Linked DNA regions of Homo sapiens: region 2 is linked to region 1. The links are contacts of gene promoters, found by promoter capture Hi-C in blood cells and fetal thymus (Javierre and others, 2016). All regions are on one chromosome and are shown on one strand. The core of a region is centred on a gene start or on the middle of the fragment in contact, and the rest is flanking DNA. Distances in the headings are between cores, read along the strand shown. Region 1 holds the start of HOXD9 (homeobox D9). Region 2 overlaps AGPS (alkylglycerone phosphate synthase).

Region 1 (7,466 bases), core at 3,144-5,643:
CTAATAATGCTTCATTCCTGTGACTGTCAACAAGTCAAGAGCAGCAAGCAGGAGCTCCTGTATGCCTAGGATATTCTAATCAGTGCTCCCAACAGCTTCCAGTAGTGTCTTTTCCAAAAGCTTCCAGCCCTTCTTTTGCCAGACACCAAAAGTCCCCATGCTGTAACCGCCCAGCTGTGCCTTTTAAAACAATTATAGGACAGGCTAGATTTAACAAAACCTACAACTTTCTAAATATCAACTGCCAAGAGGCTTTTTATTTTCCAGAGGAACCAGACACTTTGGCAACCAAGAAATTACAGAAATCAAGTATTGTTATGTTTTTGTTTTTCTCTTACAGCTGTTACTTTTAGGATTAAATCATGAATATTTGCTACTTTAACACTGTAACTTTAATGCTTTGGGGCCCACTTAGGTGGCCGATTTTGGGGGGAATCGAAGCCAAATCAAAAGCTTTTTGCTGGATCTCTGAGTGGCTGTCTGGAAAGTCCCTTTGCGCTTCTGTTTGTTGGAATTTCTATGGACAATAAATGGGATTTTAAAAATATATATCAAAAGTCATTGAACTAAGCATTCCACTAGAATTTTTTTTAAAAGCAATGACTATTCAATTGGCTTAAGTGTTTCCTGTTAGGTTAATCTTTTTACTCATCTTCAAAACTGCTTTCCTCCAGTTTAGGTGTAACAATTGTATTTTTTTATAAGTGAATAGACATAAATTTCAACAACATTTTGCTTCAAAGTTTGGAGTGGAGGGCCAGAGATTCTTGTGAATAGGCATCTAACTTCATCTTTTCCCGCGAACCACACTTCTGGGAGACTCTCACCTGGGTAAATGACCTAAGATCACTAACCACCCTATCCCCAGATAACAGGCCAATTTTTTTGTTTGTTTGTTTCTAAAGAACCAGCTAAACCGTGGTCATAGTCAAAATATTGTAAAATGCCATCTCCTTAGGCTACTTCCATTACCTGGTTCATTTCAAAAATCAGAAATTCATTCACCTCTTCCTTCCTACCTCTTTCATGTTTACTTCCTAGGTGCTCACACCTCACCTGGGGGCTCCCATGCCCCTGCCTTCTTGGTCCAACGCAGTCTTGTTTATATTTTATTGTCTAGATTTTAAGACCCAGTTTTGTCTGCATTTTTCCTTTTCTCCCACAAACACAAACATCAAAATGAGATGGTTTCAAAGCAAAGCACTGGGCCTGTCGTAAACTCATTACCTCCAGACGTCTGGCCCGCTAGATGGCTTTATGACACCTCGGCTCTTCCTGTTTTCAAAGAGCCCTAGGTACCCAGCTGGCCACAGTGGCAGGGGTGCGCAGCACCTTCTGCCGGATCTGGGCCTTCCTTGGCTTTCCCTCCCAGCCCCCCTATGCTTTTTCTTCGCGTCCCCTCTTTCATTGGGATCCCCCAAGATCTCTGCCACCGCCCCCACCTTCCACCCAGCTCAGGCCACTTGGCAGTGCTGCCTCTTTGGCCTGCAAATGCTGTGCTCACCCAAACCCTCACTTACAATGACCTTCATTTTAGCCCCTGAATGCAGCCCTCAGAGGGCCAAGCTGGGGGCTAAACATACACAGAAGCTGGGTGGGGGGAAGGGGGCGGTGAAATGGAGGTGGCTGGGGAGGAGAGCCTTGACCATTTTGATCGCTAAGGTCACTTTGGGGCTTTGGTGGGGAGGAGCAGAAGCTCACAGCCTGACCAGCTGGGACCTCCCGGAGCCAGCTAGCCCCACCGAGCTGGGACAGTTGCTCCAGAGTGTAGAGTTGGCCTTTCCCTTGTTTGGAGAGGGGTTTGGCATCTGGGGCTTCAGGAGCCCAGGGAAGGTTAGGGTGCTGTGTACCCAAGCCCCAGCCTGAAAGTGCCTGGCTTCTGGGGCCTGCTGGCTCTTCTGGGCGCTTCTGCAAGGCTAACACTGGGCCCAAGCACAGAGTTCGTGGAGGACCTTGAACCAGGCTTGGGGAGGCACCAATGTCCCCCCACAGGGTCTGTGCTGCTGCATCTGCCTACACAAAGGGATGTGAGGCAGAGAAGGCAGAGACACATCAGAGAGATCTGTCAGGTGGAAGGGCCCTGAATTTTTAACAATGTCTCACTCCCAGGGGTAGAGGAGAAATATCCTGAGTGTGATATTTTGCAGAGAGGCAGAGAAAGCAGGCACACAATGTTTAGGGCCAGCGTCTGGGCTCCATTTGATCAGGTCAGCATTTATTAGTAGGAAGCAGTAACATTTACAACTGGTCCTCGGGCAGGAACCGGGAGGGCCACCACCCGCGGCCGCCCACGCGAGCCCAGCCTTCAGGGGAGAGAGCAGCGCGTCCAATGCACTGAGGACAAACCCCAACCCGCCCGAGGCCCTGGGCTCCTCTAAGCCTCACTGGAGATCTCCACCGAGGTCCCGCGTGCTCCCTGAGGAAAGGGGGCTTTCGCAACTGGTGGGCAACCCCGCCGGGCTTCACCGTGGGCTAGCAGCCGGGGTGTCCGCACTGTTGTCGCTCTGCCTTCATTCTTGGAATTGGGGCGCACTTGGCCCCTGTTTGGGCAGTGCTGGGGGTGAGGGGACTAAACTACAGCACTTTTCAGAAACATGGGGGACATTTACACAAGAGAGGGCTCCCCAAGCCAGCTTGCACTCACAAAATATAGCATTTCTTAAGGAACCAATGGAGCAGGAAAGAGAGGGAGTGGGATAGGGCGAAACCCCAAAGCCACTTGGTTTTTCCAACACGTAAACGAGCAAATACAGAGTCCCCCAAATACCTCAGAGACCAACCACACAGTCACTTCTATCTAAAAAGAAAAAAAAAAAGAAGAAGAAGTCCAAGTCGCTGGAGAGTTTCTGGAAATCAAGCACCAAACACCCACAAAGGAAAACAGCAACAACAACAAATCCGCTGCCCTTGAGCGCTCCCGCCAGCACCGCGCCGGGTCAGTCTCCTTTGGGGCATTTCTCCTTGCTCATCTTTTTCATTTTCATCCTACGGTTCTGAAACCAGATTTTGACCTGTCTCTCTGTTAGGTTGAGAATCCTGGCCACCTCGTAGCGCCGGTCCCGGGTGAGGTACATGTTGAAGAGGAATTCTTTCTCCAGCTCAAGCGTCTGGTATTTGGTGTAGGGACAGCGCTTTTTCCGGGTGGAGCGAGCGTGGATCCAGTTCGCGGCGGGGTTGTCTACAAAGAGGGAGGTTTGGAGACGGGGAGAGAGGAGAGGAGGGGAGGCAGGGAGAGACCACAGGGTGGGGAAGAGAGGTCGTTAAATTAATTTCACCAAGGATGGTCGCTTTTCACAACTTGTGGGGAATTATCATAAAAAGCCTTAATGCTCGCGCTCTGTTTACCGTACTAACTGAGCGCCCAGGGTAGGTGGTTATGGGAAGCTCTTTTTATGGATGCATGTTGTTCGCCTAGGCTTGGGTAGGCGTCTAGACGTTTTTATAGGTTAGTAAAACTATCAGTTTTGCACATTCGAGCCTTACAGGTTTCAGCAATAAATCAGGGGGCAATTTCTTTTGCACTTACTTGGGTCAAGTTGCTGCTGCTGCGGCTGCGAATGCTGCTTCTCCTCCTCCTTCAGCGAACAGCCTGGGATCGGGTGGTCGCTGCAAGCTGAGGGCTCCGACGAGCCGCCCGTCCCAGTCGCGGCCCCGATCCCTGCCCCAGGCCCGGTTCCCCCCGTCGCCGCTGCCGCCTTCTCCTGCAGGAACGAGTTGCACGAGAACTCGGGGCCGCTGCTCCCCTGGGACTCCCGGGCCACGGAGCACTCAGTCCGTTTGGAGGAGGAGGATAAGGAAGTGGAGGAGGAGGAGGTGGTGGAGGCGGCCGTGGCGGGGGCCGGGGCCGCTCGGGTTTCAGGCTTAATCCCGTAGTGGCGCCCGTTGGCTGGGCCGCTGGGGCCAGGGCTGGGACCGCGGCCCGGACCGCCGCCTCCACCACCACCGCCACCGCCCGCACCGCCCGGGAAGCCGGGCAGCGGCTCCATCCAGGAGCGCACGTAGCGGCCGGGCTCGGAGGCAGAGGCGGCCAGGGGCGGCGGGGGAACGTACGGGTGGTAGAGGCCGCTCATCGCCGCCGCTGCCGGGGGCTGGGAGGGCACCGCGGACCACGAGGCAGAGAACACGGCCGATCTGGGGGCAAAACTACACGAGGCGAACTCGGCGGCGGTGGCGGCCGGGCCATCAGCCACACCTGCAGGCCGGCCCTGCGCGCCTGGCCCCGGCGGCCCGAAGCGCGCCGCGAACACCTCGTCGCCCTCATGGCCTATAAGCGAGTCCACGTAGTAGTTGCTGAGGGTGCCACTGGAAGACATTTTGAGGCGTCCCGCACTCCCACCCAACATTACACTGTCCGCCGCCGAGCAGCTCCCCGCCGGCGCCCGAGCCACCGACTAGTTCGCAGGCTGCAGCCTCCACCATTGGTCGCGCGGCCCACGTGATCATATTTACCAATACCGGGAGTAAATCAGTCCGCTAAACTGGGGGCTGCTGTGATTAAAAAAAAAATCATCAACATAAGCGCCGCAATTAGAGCCCGCAGGCCCAGGTCCATGTGCCCGGCTCGGCCCGGCCCGACCTGGCCTGGCCCGCCCAGCGGCTGCCAGGACCACAGACGCGACCGCATCCAGAGGAGGCGCTGGGGACTATTTGTTCGCTTCTTCTTGCAGCCCTCGGTCCCGCAGTCGGGCCCCGTCGCTGACTCTCCAGCTTCCGAGCCGCGGGCGGCGAGTCCAGGGCACACGGAGCGGCCGCGGGGGCGCCAGGCCGGTGTCGCCCGAGGCAGGCGGGCCCTCGGGGCGGCCCCTAGCGCCCGAGGGGAGCTGTTCTCCCCTCGCCTCTCTCCCTACTCACACCCACCCCTCCCCACACATCCCCACACACACGCTTGCTCACAGCTTGTCGTGTTGTTTAAAACAGGTGGAAGACCTCTGTAATGATATTATGCCTTTCAATAAAAATTTTATGAGGTGTATTTGATTATAGATTAATGTGTCCCTAATAAAACGGACGGATGGAGCAGATCGGAGGGCCCCCTCCCCCTGCCACACTCACACACGCCCGCGCGGCCACACACACCCCGACGTGAGGCTGGGCACACGCCGCGGCCCGAGGGGCGAGCCGGGGCGCGGCGGTGGAGGACACAGAGGGGCTTCTGCCTGCCCTCGGAAGGGCGGGCGGCCGGGCGAGTTGGCGCAGCACGGACAGTGGCGGCCAGGGTGCTTCGTCTTCTCCGATGATGCTGGAAAGGCCCTGGAAGAGAACACGCCACAGGGCAGAACCCAAATGCTAGAGCAGCTTGCTCCCGCCCGCCGCCTCAGCCCTGCCTCAGCGAGTCTCCCCGGGCAGGGCCGCTTCGCGCGGTTCGCACTTAAAGGCCTCGGAGGAGACTCCCAAAATGTCTAAAAAATTCGGCCGAATGGCTAGGTCCTTGGGACACTCCCTTCTGATTTTTTTCCCCCTACAGAGGTGAGGTTGAGCAGCCTTGAATCTGAGGGAAATGCCCATTGTCACTCCCAAATCCATGGTACAAAGCCTCGGAAGCCCGGCTGGGAGCCCAGACAAAAGCGGCCGGGGCGCCGGCAGCGGAGGGCATATTCCTTGCTCTACAAGTTGCCCAGCTCACCCTTGGAGGGCTCCCGGCCCACCTCCAGCCCCGAAAAGGAAGCGGGTAAATGGCTATTTATGGCCTGATTGATTACCTTTGCCAATAGCTTTCTGATTTTGTTCCAGATGGGATGCCTTTGCCTTGTAGCTCAGGCTTTCCTCGGATACATGGCCCGCTATCAACAGCTAATGGTATTCCCCACATGATCGGAGAAACGGCTAAATAAAAATTACCCTCCTCCTGCCCAACCGGTGTTAAGTCTGGGGCAAAGCTATTACAACGTTTTCAATCTAGCATTGATTCCAAGCCCTCTCCCCCACCCCCAGGAAATGGCCCCCTAAAAGAGTTCTGTCTTGGAATGTTCCTGGTTTTGGGGCGGAAGTTTAAAATTTTGAATGCCAGTGTCCCAGAGACTCCCTGGCTGAGGACTTATAGCACCTAAATGGATCGTTCTTAGGGAAACATTTAAAAGGAAGAAATGGAAAGGATGTGTTTTGTAAAACTGCTGGAAGCTATTTGAAACTGCAGGCAGGACCTCAGGTAACGAATTTTCTGTTAGCTTTCTCCTGCAAGGCCTCTTCTCCCTTTTCCCCGACAGGACTAGATAAGTCTGGGCTCTCTAGTGGAGATCCTGTTGAAGCCGGTGGAAGCTGGTGGGAGTCCCCTGGACCATGGCAGCGAATGGAACATTAGACTTCATGGGAAGTCATGTTCATTTGCAAAATTTTCAGTCACCCTTTCTGCATTTTCTTGCATCCCAGATGCAGCAGTTCCCACCAGCATTTTGTAATTAAATAGAGGAAAGACTGACTGGGGAAAATCTTTTCATTTCTTCCTTTAACAAAATTTCATGTGGGCCACTAAAAGGTAATGACTGAGCATAAAACCCGTCCACAAGGAGATCAAGGCGAAGTGGGATGGGAAAACTCACCCATCCTCGGCTTCTCTGGGGTCTGGCTGTCTTGCGCTTGGGATGGGGGTAGGGCTGAGGGAAAGGGGGCAGAATTGGATCCGCTGCAGTGCTACACTGCTGTTTGTCCTTGCTCCTGTAATGGAGGCCGGCAACTTCCAGGTGGGCAAGACTAGCTTCAACCTAGCCCCTGATGATTGCTCGCCAGCCAGAAATCACCAAGATGCCACTGAAAGCATTAAAAACAACACAACCAAAACCAAAGAGGAGAAAACACACAAATGGGAAGCTTTGAGGAGAAAGTGGCTTGGGGTATAGGCTTACTTACCAGGTTCAGGCCAGAGGAAAGCTCACACCCATTGAGAGCGCAATTATGTTACTATCACTGGGGACTGGGAAAGGAAAGAGGAGACTCCCCTTCCTCCCAATTATGAAAACTTCACTCTCAAGCTAGCTTATAATTCCTCTCCCCCAACCACTGCCAAAATCCAACACCCTAGGCCTCCTCCAGCTTTTCTCCCCCATCTCCCTTCCCCTACTAGTCTATCACTCCCCTGCCCAAATGCCCCAAACAGGGAGTGTAACCAGAAGATAATCTCACCATAGGCTTTCATTTCCACCATAACATATTTCCATTTCAGAAAGCAGAGGGAGTGAACTCATTTCCAGAGTTTATTGCATTATACATGCGACCAGAACATGCACAGAAAGGACAGGTTGCTGTTGTACTTCTACCAAACCACAGATGCACCACAAGGGAAAGGCTACAAGGCATAAATCGCCAATATCCCATCTCACCAAGGACAACTGCTAAATTCATTTGTGAAAAGATACATTGTAATGTGCTTTTTAAGTCCCCCTCCCTCCAACTTGTGGGTTTTCTTAATCTTTTTTTTTTAAATATATATGTCATTTTTAAAGTACTGGATGTATTCAAAATGCCATGAGTTC
Region 2 (7,466 bases), core at 2,927-5,426, 1.3 Mb before region 1:
ATATTTTCCACTTTGCTTTTTTTCATGATTAAATTATCTTCACTTTTATGAAGTATAATTTACTTAGTATTTTCTTATATTTCAATAATCAGAAGGATAAATGTATATTTTAATACATTAACATCTTTAATGGCTTATAATATGCATAGATTTTATGTGATTGCATTTTATTAGTGAATTTCAACATTTATTATAATTCTGTTCTCTACAAAATAGTAATTTGGTATTACACAAAATAAATGCAAAAATCTCAAGGCAAGGCACAAGGAAATCATTTCAGTACAGAGGTTGAATCTGGCATGTTTATGTAGCTTAACAACGAAAATCATTTTCCTTAAAATTATCCCTAGAATTTAAAAACTTATCCCCAGATGGCCCCAAAGTAAAAAGCTAAACTTGGTCACATGGGTTCATTCTTAGCACTTCATGAGGAAATGAATCAAGATAGCAGGAAAGATCTGCTGTTATACACTATAAAATGAAGGGATTTACATCCTGAAGAGTCTTTGGCCTTAAATTTTCAAGTTGGGTAATATTCTAAAGAACTTCCAAATTTTCAACTGTAGGTACCTTTTTCTCTCTTTTCATCCCAGTCATAAAATTGGGCTTATGAAATGGACTTTACCATATTTATATCAACTTTTGGAGTCTTCTCAGAAGTTGAATGTAGGCATTTGGAATGCATTTATACCCAAAACAGGATTATGCATAAATCATATACAATTAAAATCTAGATTACCCCCAAACCAATCTTCTGATATCTTCAAGTACCCCAGGTGTTAAATAAAAAACAGGTAAATTTCCCAGGCTTCTAGTTTTAAACTTTTATGTACACATATTCTAACCCCATCCCCACCAAATTACTAGTATATACTCTGATAGTTAAATATAACTATATGATTAAATTTTTTAATAACTTCTTATACATAGAAGTATTTTGAACGGTATTACAGCATAACATTTTAAAATTAGAGTAAAACTTTATATAGTCACAGAATTTGAAAACTAAAAAGATCCTCAGAACCCATCCAGTTCAATTGCTCATTTTTCAGATAAAGAAACTGCCCAGAGAAGCATCCCTGGTCACGCAGCTAAGTTAGTTGTGAGTATCCAAAGGCTGACTTCCAGTCTCATAATTCTTCCTCTTCAGAGAGGCAATAATATCTGAAACCCATCTAAGTCAGGCTGTCAGATAACCAGAATATTTGAAAGAACTCATTTTTTGATTTACATCAATACTGTTTCAAGAAACTATTACATGTTACTATAGATTGAGTATCCTTTATCCAAAATGCTTGGGACCAGAAGTGTTTCAGATTTCAGATATTTTTCAGATTCTGGAATATTTACATATACACAATGAGATTTCTTGGGGATGGGACCCAAGTCTAAACATAAAATTTATTTATGTTTCATATACATCTTATCACATAGCCTGAAGGTAATTTTATACAATATTTTTAATGGTTTTGTGCATGAAACAGAGTTTGCATACACTGAACTATCAGGAAGCAAAGGAATCACTATCTCATGACAGTGTTCAAAAAGTTTCCAATGTTGGAACATTGTGGATTTTAGATTTTCAAATTAAGGATGCTCACCCTGTGTTGTAGTAATTCTTCTGCACTTCAGCTGAAGGAAAACATTTAAAAATCAAGGGATATGTTTGTGTCAGAAGCCAAATTCCCTATACTTCCGATAGTGTAATGAATTCTGCCATTCAGAATAACCCCAAAGTACTGCAAGCACTAAAATGAAGAATGATTAAAGAATCATCAACTTTCCATAAGATTCAAATAAAAGAATCCAATTCTCAACTAACCCCAGAGGTCAATTAACCAGTATGATCTCAGACATTCCAATTCTTAGAGCTAACTATACCAAATTTAACATCTTTCAAAAAACAAGACCGGGCCAGGCACAGTGGCTCACACCTGTAATCCTAGCACTTTGGGAGGCCAAGGTGGGCAGATCACAAGGTCAGGAGATCAAGACCATCCTGGCTAATATAGTGAAACCCCATCTCTACTACAAATTAAAAAAAAAAATTAGCTGGGTGTAGTGGCGCATGCCTGTAGTCCCAGGTGCTCAGGAGGCTGAGGCAGGAGAATCGCTTGAACCTGGGAGGCGGAGGTGGCAGTGAGCCGAGATCACACCACTGCACTCCAGGCTGGGTGACAGAACAAGACTCCGTCTCAAAAAAACAAAACAAAACAAAAAAAAACCCTCCTCCTGCCGAAAGAATAGTTGGCTTGATTTTACTGCATAAAAAAATAAATGTTTTACACATTTACACATCTAACCACAGTACCAAACTGAAAAAGCAAGTATTAGCTGGTGTAACAAAAGAAAATGGAGGCATAAAATAGCATCCTATATGCACAAGGTGGCAGTATTCTCCCATGATATGTACATGATGTACATATTCAGCATTTTGCATTTTTCAGGGCTGTTATTATACAATCTTTAGGTGAAATATTTAGATTTAGCCTTACTATTATAAAAACCATAAAGAGTTTCTTTATTCTTAAAATGGGAAATTTTCACTTTGAAGTCTCTGTTTACAGACTGGTTGTCACACTACTATTCCTCTACTAGTAATAAACTGCAAACATCCTGATATATATGCATGGTTTCTACATTGCTATTTCTAATCATAATAGTCATAATATTTTTCACTAGAAAATAAGGAAAAGGAAAAAATGATTTTGGCTACTTTCATTCTGGGTTAACAACTGTAAAAGTTCAGCTATCTAATAACTTTTATAAAAGTTTTTCTGATAAAATTCCAATAATCAAAATTCTAATAAAAGATGCTTCACTCTTCAGATCAATATTTCCTCTTGCCCTGATATAAAACTCACAAAGCTACCTTCATCTGATAATATTGTGATTTCCTAGAGAGAAAAAAAAAAGGACAACTGAAATGGCCAAAAGGATCTACAGTTTTACTTTTCATCATGAATTAGTTTATTGGCTTGTTAATTAACTTTGGTAACTGGTGAGGGCAGTCAGACTATCTAAATGTAATCAACTTGAGGACTCTGATAAGATCATGTTTCTAGATGGGTCAACAAGGTATAATCTGTGTCCTCTAGACAGTGAGCCTTCTTGAACATTATCATGCAACACTTTAAACTTCAACAAGAATTTCAATCTTCCCTCAATATCCCCATTGTAAGTTTCTCAGCTCTAGTTGCCAGAATAAAAATGTGACCCTGTGATATAATAAGTTATTAATCAATGTGATAATTCTTAGCAGTGTGATAATGCAAAGTGGCTTAAATATGAGATTTGAGAACACAGAAAGTTGTTAACAAGAACATGAAGAAAAGGAATCCACATGCATACTGGTAAGCCACTCCACAGAGCAATCATGTAGTAAGCTTTCATAGGTAATGCCAATTCTATGACCCAACTATACAACTCCTGGGTATATATTGCATAGGAAATTCATATACAATTCCATAAGGGAACACATTTGATATATTCCCTGGAGCATTGTTTGTAAGAGTAGCTGGAGGCATCACTAGAGAAGCAGGTAAGTAATGTGGAAAATGCATTCCATGAAATATTAATGCAGCAATCAAAAGCAGTAAGTTGAATAGATATGCATATAGAAACACGATGAAATGTTTAAAACAGTGGTAAACACAAAGGAGAAACAATAAAATCCATAGTAAAACAGCATTTAAGGGAATTAAAAATATACACACTAAATAACACTGCATATTTCACAAAACACAAAATATTATATATAATATATCCAGATATATTATTTATAATGCATTCATCATATATGTATATTATATACATTATACACACACACACACACACACACACGAACCTTCATAGGCACCCATGGGATAGGCAGATGAAATTAGTAATCAGAGATGGAGGAAAATTAGAGGCCTCACACAAATACCATACATTAAAAATGTATGTTACCACAACTCTCTGAACCTGAGGCAAATACGCTGCTCAGCCTTTGAATCTCAGTGCAGTTTCTCTCTGTTCTGAGAAAATAATTCTTTCTTCCATATATACACAGAACTTTCATGATGGTTTATTATAAAATCTATTGGGCTTCTTAGCAATAGCTACAAATTTTTTTGAATGATAGAATTCCATTATGAATTAAACAGCTTCAACTATATGGTAAACCAAATATACATTTAACTACCTACAGTCAACTTTTTATAGTCCACAAGAAACTAGCACTCTAAAAAACTTTTTAAGGCCAAGCACAATGACCTGTAATCCCACCACTTTGGGAGGCCAAGGTGGGAGGATAACTTGAGCCTTGAAGTTCAAAATAAGCCTGAGCAATACAGCGGGACCCCTAATTCTCAAAAATAAAATAAAATAAAAGCCAGGTGTGGTGGTGCAAGCCTGTAATCCCAGCTACTACAAGGCCAAGGCAGAAGGATCCCTTGAGCTCAAGAGTTCAAGGTTGCAGTGAGCCATGATTGCCACTGCACTCCAGCCTGGGTGACAGAGTGAGGTCCTGTCTCAAAAAAAAGAAAAGAAAGAAACCTTTTAAAACTTGAATTCAAGGCTCAAAAACTGCGTCCCAAAGGTCCAATTCCTACTACATTTATCATGAATAAATGAGTGAAAGAAAAAGTAATATACAGGTATAAAGGGGAAAAATTCTAAACAGAGGCACAGGAAAGGGGCGGGGGGCAAGAAGGGCAAATAAGGCAAGACCAGCTTTACCTCACATTGACAGAATACTCTGGGCAGTCACTAATCACTTCAGGTTCTTGGGGTGCCATTCTTTACTCCCACACTTCTCTCACACACTACACCATAATCTACCAATTAGAAACTTGTTACTGTTTGAATGACGCATTTGAAAATGGAAATACACACTATTAGTCATTCATACATTTAGTAGTGTATGTTACAAATATTTTGTGGTAAGGGCAGGTGTGTACCCACATATCCACTCACACAAGCTTGGTACCTGCCATTCTGGAAGCCTGGAAAGAAACAACCATCCTACCCTTTACCCTCAGGTGTTGATCTACGTAATGAGGAAAACAATCCAAATCTGCATCAGGAGGTTGTCATAGCAAAGGACAAAGAGAAAAGGATATATCCTTCACTTGGACTCTTGTGTTCCCTGGACTGTACTTTAAATTTCATGGTTTTTCCCTTCATTGTCCACTTGTAATCTACCCAATATGGCAATTTTGGCAACCAACCCCAGACTGTCTCTACCACCAACTGGGAAAATGCCAATTCACTTTCATTGCTCACTCCATGCTTGTTAGTAATTAAAAAAGGAATTGTATCACAAGCTTATTATACTGACCAATCCATAAGTGACCAAAGCCATTTCTGGTAGAGCCTTGCATTTCTGTAGAAACTACAAAACTGAACACAGACAAAGAAAATACAAATGTCTCCAAAAATCTATATGCCATTTTAGCATTGAAACCAAGCCTAAGTTCCCTTCCCCTGCTGTCCTTTGGGGACAGACCAACAATACCCTTGGCATGACCCTAAAAATACCAAGACTGAAATCCATACCGGCTTAATGTACACAGTATTCTTGTTGTAAACCGTAATTGTTGGGCAACCCCCTTTGGGTTCCCTCCCATTGTATGGGAGCTCCGTTTTCACTCTATTAAATCTTGCAACTGCATACTCTTCTGGTCTGTGTTTGTTATGGCTCCAGCTGTGCTTTCACTTGCCATCCACCACTGTTGTTTGCCGCCATCGCAGACCCGCCGCTGATGCTGACTTCCACCCCTCCAGATCCAGCAGGGTGTCCACTGTGCTCCTGATCCAGCGAGGCACCCATTGCCACTCCCGATCGGGCTAAAGGCTTGCCATTGTTCCTGCACAGCTAAGTGCCCAAGTTCATCCTAATCAAGCTGAACACTAGTCGCTGGGTTCCACGGTTCTGTTCCATGACCCATGGCTTCTAATAGAGCTATAACACTCACCACATGGCCCAAGATTCCATTCCTTGGAATCCGTGAGGCCAAGAACCCCAGGTCAGAGAACAAGAGGCTTGCTGCCATCTTGGAAGTGGCCGCCAACATCTTGGGAGCTCTAGGAGCAAGGACACCCTGGTAACATTTTGGCAACCACGAAGGGACTCTCCAAAGCGGTGAGTAATATTGGACTACTTTCGCTTGCTATCCTTCCTTAGAATCAGAGGAAAATACAGGGTGCTTGTCGGCCAGTTAAAAAAACGATTAGCGTGGCTGCCAGACTTAAGACTCAGATGTGAGGCTATCTGGGAAAAGGCTTTCTAACAACCCCCAAACCTTCTGGGTTGGGAGCATTGATCTGCCTGGAACCAGCTTGCGCTTTCAATTTTCCTGGGGAAGCCAAGGGCCAACTAGAGGCAGAAAGCTGTCGTCCCGAACTCCCAGCATTAGCCGGTTGACATCATGGTACAGCCAGAAGTCTCTACTCAACAGTCACCCATGCGTGCACCCCACCTTTCCTTCTGACCCATACCTCCTGGGTCCTGACCATGACTTTCTTGAAAGTGTAGCCCCAAAATTCTCCTTACCTCTGAATCTACTTCCTCTGATCCCTGCCTCCTAGATACTAATGGTTCAGACTTTCATTTCCTTTCCCACGTATTGGAGCAAGTTGTATCTCCAAAGGGATCTAATGAAGCTCTATGCTGTGTCCTTAGGCATCTAGGCTATCAACCCAGTGAGTCTTGTCCCTCGTGTCCCTCCCAATTTAGCCACACAGCTCTCGACCGTTATGTGGGACCTGTTCCCCACCAACTTGCCAGGGCCCCAAGTTTGTAAATGGCTAGGAGGACTGCTCTCCCATTGTGTAAGATGCTCTCCTCCCCCGATTTCTACCCAGCTTATCCCTCTGCAATACAATCTCCAAGCCTTGGCTCCTTGGCCAGGGCCTTAGAACTGATGACCCAGTACTATGGGTCTACAACAACATAATAGAACAGGATAAAAGCAAATTGAGTAAGTCAAGGAGAGGAAAGACAGACAGAGAGAGAGAGACAAATTAAAATAGACCTAGGTAAATTATCAGATAACCCTGATGGCTATATTGATGTTTTACAAGGGTTAGGACAATCCTTTGATCTGACATGGAAAAATATAATGTTACTGCTAGATCAGACACTAACCCCAAATGAGAAAAGTGCTGCCATAACTGCAACCTGAGAGTTTGGCGATCTCTGGTATCTCAGTCAGGTCAATGATAGGATGACAACAGAGGAAAGAACAATTCCCCACAGGCCAGCAGGCAGTTCCCAGTGTAGACCCTCACTGGGATGCAGAATCAGAACATGGAGATTGGTGCTGCAGACATTTACTAACTTGCGTGCTAGAAGGACTAAGGAAAACTAGGAAGAAGCCTATAAATTATTCAGTGTTGTCCACTATAACACAGGGAAAGAAAGAAAATCCTACCACGTTTCTGGAGAGACTAAGGGAGGCACTGAGGAAGCATAGCTCTCTGTC

Evidence for each region. Contacts are between HindIII fragments. The CHiCAGO score rates a contact against its expected background, and 5 or more counts as called.
Region 2: a contact is called between a fragment that was not itself captured here and the fragment with the promoter of HOXD9 in region 1, in 1 of 17 cell types (activated CD4 T cells). The highest score is 5.1, in activated CD4 T cells.

What each region holds. Positions count from the first base shown.
Region 1 is chr2:176,119,646-176,127,111 of GRCh38, reverse strand. HOXD9 (homeobox D9) reads right to left here and starts at 4,393. Exons shown (of 2, transcript NM_014213.4): 1 at 3,527-4,393; 2 at 2,175-3,178. The coding sequence starts at 4,343. The coding sequence ends at 2,937. It overlaps HOXD10 (homeobox D10), which reads right to left. Exons shown (of 2, transcript NM_002148.4): 2 at 7,175-7,466. The HindIII fragment of the contact is 6,351 bases long and covers 456-6,806 here.
Region 2 is chr2:177,411,275-177,418,740 of GRCh38, reverse strand. The region is part of intron 1 of AGPS (alkylglycerone phosphate synthase); the gene reads right to left. Among named protein-coding and RNA genes, the nearest start is that of AGPS, 22 kb to the right of the region's middle. The HindIII fragment of the contact is 1,575 bases long and covers 3,389-4,963 here.